Regions from separate parts of the Homo sapiens genome. Here region 2 is linked to region 1. The links are contacts of gene promoters, found by promoter capture Hi-C in blood cells and fetal thymus (Javierre and others, 2016). All regions are on one chromosome and are shown on one strand. Each heading gives the region's core, a stretch centred on a gene start or on the middle of the fragment in contact. The rest is flanking DNA. Distances are from core to core; before and after follow the strand shown.

The links. The method cuts DNA at HindIII sites, captures the fragments that hold promoters and counts their contacts. A CHiCAGO score of 5 or more calls a contact.
Region 2: a contact is called between the fragment with the promoter of METTL21A here and the fragment with the promoter of LANCL1 in region 1, in 2 of 17 cell types (non-activated CD4 T cells and activated CD4 T cells). The highest score is 6.6, in non-activated CD4 T cells.

The regions. Positions count from the first base shown.
Region 1 is chr2:210,474,896-210,478,320 of GRCh38, forward strand. LANCL1 (LanC like glutathione S-transferase 1) reads right to left here and starts at 1,864. Exons shown (of 10, transcript NM_006055.3): 1 at 1,725-1,864; 2 at 1,421-1,517. The coding sequence starts at 1,501. It also overlaps a transcript of CPS1 not described here. The HindIII fragment of the contact is 5,337 bases long and covers 579-3,425 here.
Region 2 is chr2:207,623,720-207,627,144 of GRCh38, forward strand. It overlaps METTL21A (methyltransferase 21A, HSPA lysine), which reads right to left and starts at 1,675. Exons shown (of 4, transcript NM_001127395.5): 1 at 1,343-1,675; 2 at 510-685. The coding sequence starts at 656. RefSeq lists a silencer at 1,271-1,870 and enhancers at 2,141-2,845, 2,846-3,425. The HindIII fragment of the contact is 10,824 bases long and covers 1-3,425 here.

The DNA of each region.
Region 1 (3,425 bases), core at 614-3,113:
GCAAGACAAGACACATACTTCAGCTTGAGAATCTGCACAGCTAAGCAGAATGCAGGCCCAAATGGCCAAAGGGAATCCATCTGACCTGAAGATAATTATAAAAAGCTTTGTTTGGGCAGCTTAATACTAGTCTTAAAATAATCAGATTGACTCAAACTCCATATACATTTTGGTAGCCTTCTACCCTACACCTCTTCTTCATCTCTTTGATTCCTCCTACCTGCATTACTGACCCAAGTTAATCTATAATGTGACAAGTGTTTTAAGGAAAAAAACAACCATCAGACCCACAGATTAATTTGACAGGGATGAAATCTGTAAGGCCTTTATATCACATAAAATGTCTTTTGTATGGCTGACAAGTTTCAAAGAAATAAACTGGTAAAATTTTTAAAGCGTGTGCCTTGTTTCCAACTTAACTCATTTTCAAAACTAAATTTTATTTTTTTATTTTTTAGAGACAGGGTCTCTGTCACCCAGGCTAGAGTGCAGTGGTGCAATCATAGCTCACTACAGCCTCGAATCTCCTAGGCTCCAGCAATTCTCCCGCCTCAGCCTCCCAAGTAGCTGGGACTACAAGCTTTCCACCACACCTGGCTAATTTTTAAAAAAATTTTAGTAGAGATAAGGTCCTGCTGTGTTGCACAGGCTGGTCTCAAACTCGTGGCCTTAAGCAATCCTCCTGCCTTGATTTCCCAAAGTGTCGGGATTAATGGTGTGAGCCACTGCACCCAGCCAAAAGTAGGTATTCTTAAAAATATCTGTATTCCCTCTTAACAATTATGTTCACCCAATGAGGCATGAGAAAACACAGGCCCCTAGTATTTTACATCCAGGTTCTCTTTTGCACAGTGATTTGTGACATGCTAACCAGTTTAATTTACAAGTTTCTTTTTTTTTGTTTTCCAGCTGTGGATATGCCCTGTGGAGTGACACCGGTACAAAGAACTTCAGGTTTCCTAGGTCCCCAAATTCTCTAAGCACTAACAGTTTAAAGACGTCCTTACCATACACCACCGTTTGCTCTCATCATTACCCTGAACGCACTTGTGTATAATCACAAAGGAGTAACACGGCACATGTGAATACCGTTAGGATTCTTCACCTCTTTTTAAGAAGCAAACCAAAATACATTAAAAAATGCCAATTACATAGTAAACTACATATTTGCCAATTTTTAAAATTTATACTATCAATAATTGAGTTTATTTCAATTAATAATGTTAACAATGACACATTTAACATTATGTTAGAGCTCAATTTGTATATATTAACATGTATTTTTAAATAATTTACGTATTTATCGTCGAATCATGTATTTTTTTAAAGGGGGATGCTCAACTCTCTCAGGCAAAAATGAGCACCTTTCCGAACACCGTGGGGAGAGGCAGGGATGCAGGCAGACATATCCTAAACTCACCCTCCCGGCAGCATCAAAGTAGCCTTCGGCCAGGGATTTGTTATAATCAGCATAAGGATTCGGGAAGGCCCTTTGAGCCATGACGCCGGAAGCAAGCCTGCAGAACAGGGGAAAAACAGAAACTAGGTTGAGATAGGGGCCTCGGCCGAGTTGCGAGGGCGGCGGCGGCGCCCAGGTATCCCCCTTCCTCCAGCTCCAGGGCCATCGAGCCGTCTCGGCGGTCCGAGTGGACCTCGGGCCCACTGCGGCCCAACTGCTAGGACATGGCGCCTTCGCGAAAAAGCTGCCAGGGCCCTTAACCCACCCGGACAAAGAGGCCCCGTTTTGCAACCCCGTTCCCACGCCCGCGACTTGAAGCAAGTGCGCCTCCCGCGTCCTGAAGCCCTTCTCGGCCCTGGCCTCTCACCCCGCAGCCCCGGACAGTAACAGAAGGGCTATTTTACCGCCCAGTTCCTGCCAGGAGGGCCAATCAGAGCCTTCGCCGTTCCCGAGACCCGCCCCCTTCTCTCTTACAGTTTGTTAAAGACACAGGCGTGTAATTTCTAAAGGATAACGCAGGGTATTTTAATTACTGGGTAGCAGAAGTGAGGACCTAGAATCACGCGGAGATGTGACCAATATTTCCTACCCTTCTTTAATTTTTCTTATTTTTAAAAAGTCAAATTTAAGTCCAGAGTCATAAGAAGTATATATTTTTTTAACCTGGAGAAGAAACAGACTGCTTTTAGATCTGAACATGCTGGTATTTCTGCTGTTCGCAATAGATAAAATTTGGCGGGGGGTGGGGGGATAATGTCTCTCCAGGGACTTGCCAATCTTTTCTTTTCATTTCTTAAAACAAACAAACAAAAAAGCACCACCATCATTAACAACAACAACAACAAAAATATGCCCAAAGGACAGGATATCAAATAGCAGTTGATAATACTTTGGGGAAAGCACATGAAAACACAAATTACAGCTCTTAGGAAATTTATTCTGTTCCTTAGCCTAAATTGGACTATAATACTGGATAACAAAGCTCTAAAAAATACTGAAAACCAACACAGCAGGAGATCCACAACATTCAATTTCAATGTTTTAACAGTCCCTGCTATCTGAAACATTTTTCTTTCATTTAAAATTAAATCCCACCTGGTACATATTAGGCCCATTCTATTGCTCAGAGAATTTTGGAGTTCAGTTAAAAAGTCAGCCTCACTCTCTCCTTTTCCTTCTCTCCGGTTTCAATGAAGAGTCCTAGCTCCAGACCTCCAACTGGAGAAGCTCAGTCTCCACCCCAACTCCCTCCCTCCTTGGCCTAAGTTTGTCCTTCTGAGGCTGCCATCCCAAACTCTACTCCTAATCCCTCCCCACACCCAGGTTTGCTCTTTTAAAATAGTTGCTTTCTTAGGAAATGTAGTTGCTTTCTTAACCTCATCAAATTCATGAAGATTTAGCCGAGGCCCATGGTGAGTCTTAAGCTGGATATCTCTCATGTTTTAAAAGATGGGTGTTTGAAGGAGCAACTCACAAGAGAGAAAAGGAAAACGAGAGACATTTTATCAATTATTTTTTCTTTAATGATTAAAGGCTATCCATTTATCCCACTCACAGTCTTTAAGCAATTAAATATTACTGTTGTTAAGCAAGGCAGGATGGTAATTGTATATTTTCATAGTATGCCTCTATCTTATTTTACTAATCCTTTCCCCTAATGATGGACATTGTTTCTAACTTCCATACTACAAATAATATTCTTGGAACATGTGCTTTTATGAATCTGTGTGAGTATCCCTGAGACATACACCCAGCAGTCAATTGCTGGATCATATGAGATTCTGTACTTAATTTCCCCAATGTTGTTAGATTGCTTTCCAAAACTGCTGGACTAGTTTATATTCCCTCTAACAGTATCTATTGTTCACTCCAAGAGTATTCACTCCAACATATCAATTGTTTCTGTCATTTCCATCTCCTCTCCAACACTTGGTATTATCTAGTGTTCTAATGTTTGCCATTCTAA
Region 2 (3,425 bases), core at 425-2,924, 2.9 Mb before region 1:
GCGTGCACCTGTAGCCCCAGTTACTCCAGAGGCTGAGGTGGGAGAATCACTTGAACCCAGGAAGCGGAGGCTGCATTGAGCCAGGATCGCACCACTGCACTCCAGCCTGGGCAACAGAACGAGACTATGTCTCAAAAGAAAAAAAGACTAACTCGTGTCCAAAGCAGTTGGGGGCTTTCCTTCCTATCCTCTCCGACAAGTCATTAACTTTCCTCAGCTTTCATTTACACCTTTAAAATGTAATCTATGTGGAGGGACAAGAGGAGTGACTAAGGGATACGGGTTTGAGAGTGGCAGTGATAGTAAAACTTTTAAAATTGAAGCGGTAATAGTTGCACTACTCTGTGAATATACTGTATTTTTAAAACCGCACTGAATTGTGCACTTTAAATAGGTAAAGTGTATGCTATGTGAATTATATCTCAATAAAGCTGTTCTAAAAAAAATAAAAAATAAAAGCCAGTCTTGCAAGTGTGAACGTTTTCAGAGGTCCCCCAGGGCTTACTTACCGCATCCCAAACCACCGCTGCGACTCCCAGGTGTCTCCAGTCCTGCCGGATCTGGATCGTGTGGTTTGCAAAGGAAAAAGTTGCAAGAGGCTTGTGGAATTTCTGCAACCCAAATTCCGTGGTCTCCTCATAGGGCACGAGGGCCATTCCGCCTGCACCCCGCCCTCTGCTCAGACCTGCCGTGCAAAAGAATCCTGGGTGACGCTCTGGCCAAAAGATACATTATCTGTTCTTAACTAACTCCAAATGCTTTTAAGGTCGTTTACAAGTTCAAAAGAAAAAAAGAAACAGGTGGAGGAAGCCTTTGTCCAATTTCTTTTGCATGGCTCTTCCGAATCTGAGTGAGATTTGGCTCGGAATTTGTGTCAACGGATGTGTTTGGGGAAGAAGAAAAAAAAAGCCCAGAACATTCCAACTTCCGCAGAATACCCTATACACTGCACTGCTACCACTCCGTGAATTCAGAACTACACAAGCGGCGGAAGCGGCGGTGATCGCCCAGGGCCCCAGAGCAGCGCGGAAAGCAGCGCTTCCAACCCAGACCCGGGCGCCCGGACTGCAGCTGCAGCCAGCCGGGCGGCCCGGGTTCTTTCGCTACGGTTTCGCTACCCACCTCCCCTCCTCCATCGGCTGCTTCGATAGTGATAACAATGGGACAGAACCTGCCCTTAGACTGGGTGTTAGCGGTTTGATAAACCAGAAATACATGGTCGCCGCAGTTCCGTCTCCCCGACCCTGGAAGTGAGCGACACTGGGGGCCTCCAAGCGGCTCGCGGGGACAGCGGGGACTCGGAGGCCTCCCCGAACTCCCCCTATAGCTGCCCCCCACTCACCCCTCTCCCGGGACGACCAGTGCGCCCTTCCTGCCCGGGGGCCCCGGAGCTGCGGCAACCCTCCAGGGGTGAGAGGGAGACCAGGCGAGGGGGGTCACAGGGCCTCTTAGGATCCCCAGGCCATACGGGGCGCCGTGAGCTGCCCGGCGGAGCACCCAGGGCTCGCCCAGGCCGGGCTGAGGCGCCGCCACGCCGGTACTTACGGCCCGGGAGGCGGTCCCGCGTGGAGCGCGCGCTCCGCTTTCCCCGCCCCGGGCTGGCTGCGAAAACCGCCGGCCTTAAAGAGCCCGCGACGCGGGGGCGGGCGGCCCCGGCCCGGAGCCACGCATTTCCGGTCTCCCGGCACCCAGCCTCCGGCAGGTGCCCCCGGAGCTCACGGCGAGGGCGGGGCCGGGCCGTGGCGCGGTGGAGGAGTGACGTTGCGGGAGGGGGGACCGGGGCTTTCCCTCGTGCGTCCCCAGGGTACACGGACGACTTAATCCGTTTCCCCCGCCGCCGAGGGAGGCGCTGTGGGGGCGGGAGCAAGAGTGAGATCGGGGTGCCGAACTGCCGCGGGTGCACAGGGAGAGCATGGGGTGCCCTGGGCTCTCCTAGCGGGAGAGAAAAGCCACCCACCTGGCGCTGAATGTGCCTCTCGACCTTTTCTATCATGTGCTCCGCCGCTCTCTGCCTCTGACTTTGTCGCTTGCGCGTTGTGCCTGTTTTTTAAAGGTGGCGCGTTAGCGGATGATGGAGACAGCTCGCTCCGAAGAAGGCATGGTCACTCTAGTCCCCGCGTCTCCACGGTGGGGTCAGAAGCGGCGTAATAGCCCGCTTGGCGGCAATCGAGTGGAAAAGTCACAAAACCCTTTTCAACTAAAGCACAGTGGGGGAAGTGAACACGTGGCGCCCGAGTCCAAGTTTTTAAAGTGGGGCGGGGGTCGGCGGGCTCTGGCTGCAGTCGGAAGCGCGGAGCTCTGGGCGTGCGCTCGGCTCCAGCCCCGGCCCCAGGCGGCGCTGCAGACTCCAGTGCCCCAGTCTCCCTCCTCCCGATGCCAAGACGCACCTGCCCGTGAGGACCCACGCTGGACGTGGAAGGTGCCGAGGGCCTGGTACCCTGGCCGCAGGCCCTGGCAGAGCGCGCGGCTGGAGTGGGTCCATTGAGTGGGACCGTGCGGGGACCGGCATCCTCCCGGGGCAGGCTTCTTTTTCCTCCTGGGGCCCCTCGCCCCACACCGCCCGCTGCGCTCTCAGCGCGGCTGCACGTTAGAACCAGCTGGGGTAAACCTCCCTTACCAGTCCCCCGCCCCAAGAGCTGGCCATGGGAGGGGGCCCGAGCGCTGATTTTTTTGTTTGGTTTTTTGCTTTTGTTTTTGTTTTTGTTTTTGTTTTGAGACGGAGTCTCTCTCTGTCGCCCAGGCTGGAGTGCAAGGGCGCGAACTCGGCTCACTGCAGTCTCCGCCTTCCGGGTTCAAGCGATTCTCCTGCCTCATTCTCCCGTGTAGCTAGGATTACAGGCCTGCGCCAGCACGCCAGCTAATTTTTGTGGGATTTTGTTTGTTTGTTTGAGACGGAGTCTTGCTCTGTCGCCAGGCTGGAGTGCAGTGGCGCGATCTCGGCTCACTGCAGCCTCCACCTCCCGGGTTCAAGCAGTTCTCCTGCCTCAGCCTCCAAAGTAGCTGGAATTACAGGCGCCCGCCGCCACACCCGGCTTTTTTTGTGTTTTTAGTAGAGACGGGGCTTCACCATGTTGGCCAGGCTGGCCTTGAACTCCTGATCTCCGGTGATCCGCTCATCTCAGCCTCCCAAAATGCGGGATTACAGGTGTGAACCACTGCCACCTCCCCCACCCCTACCGCCCGAGCGCTGATTTTTTTTTTTTATTATTATTATTCAGAGTTTCGCTCTTGTCACCCAGGGTGGAGTGCAATGGCATGATCTCGGCTCACTGCAACCTCCGCCTCCCAGGTTCAAGGGATTCTCCTGCCTCAGCCTCCAAGTAGCTTAGATTAAGGGGCCCACCACCACGACTGGCTAATTTTTGTATTTTTAGTAGAGACGGGGGTTTCACCACGTTGGCCAGACTGGTCTCGAACTCATGACT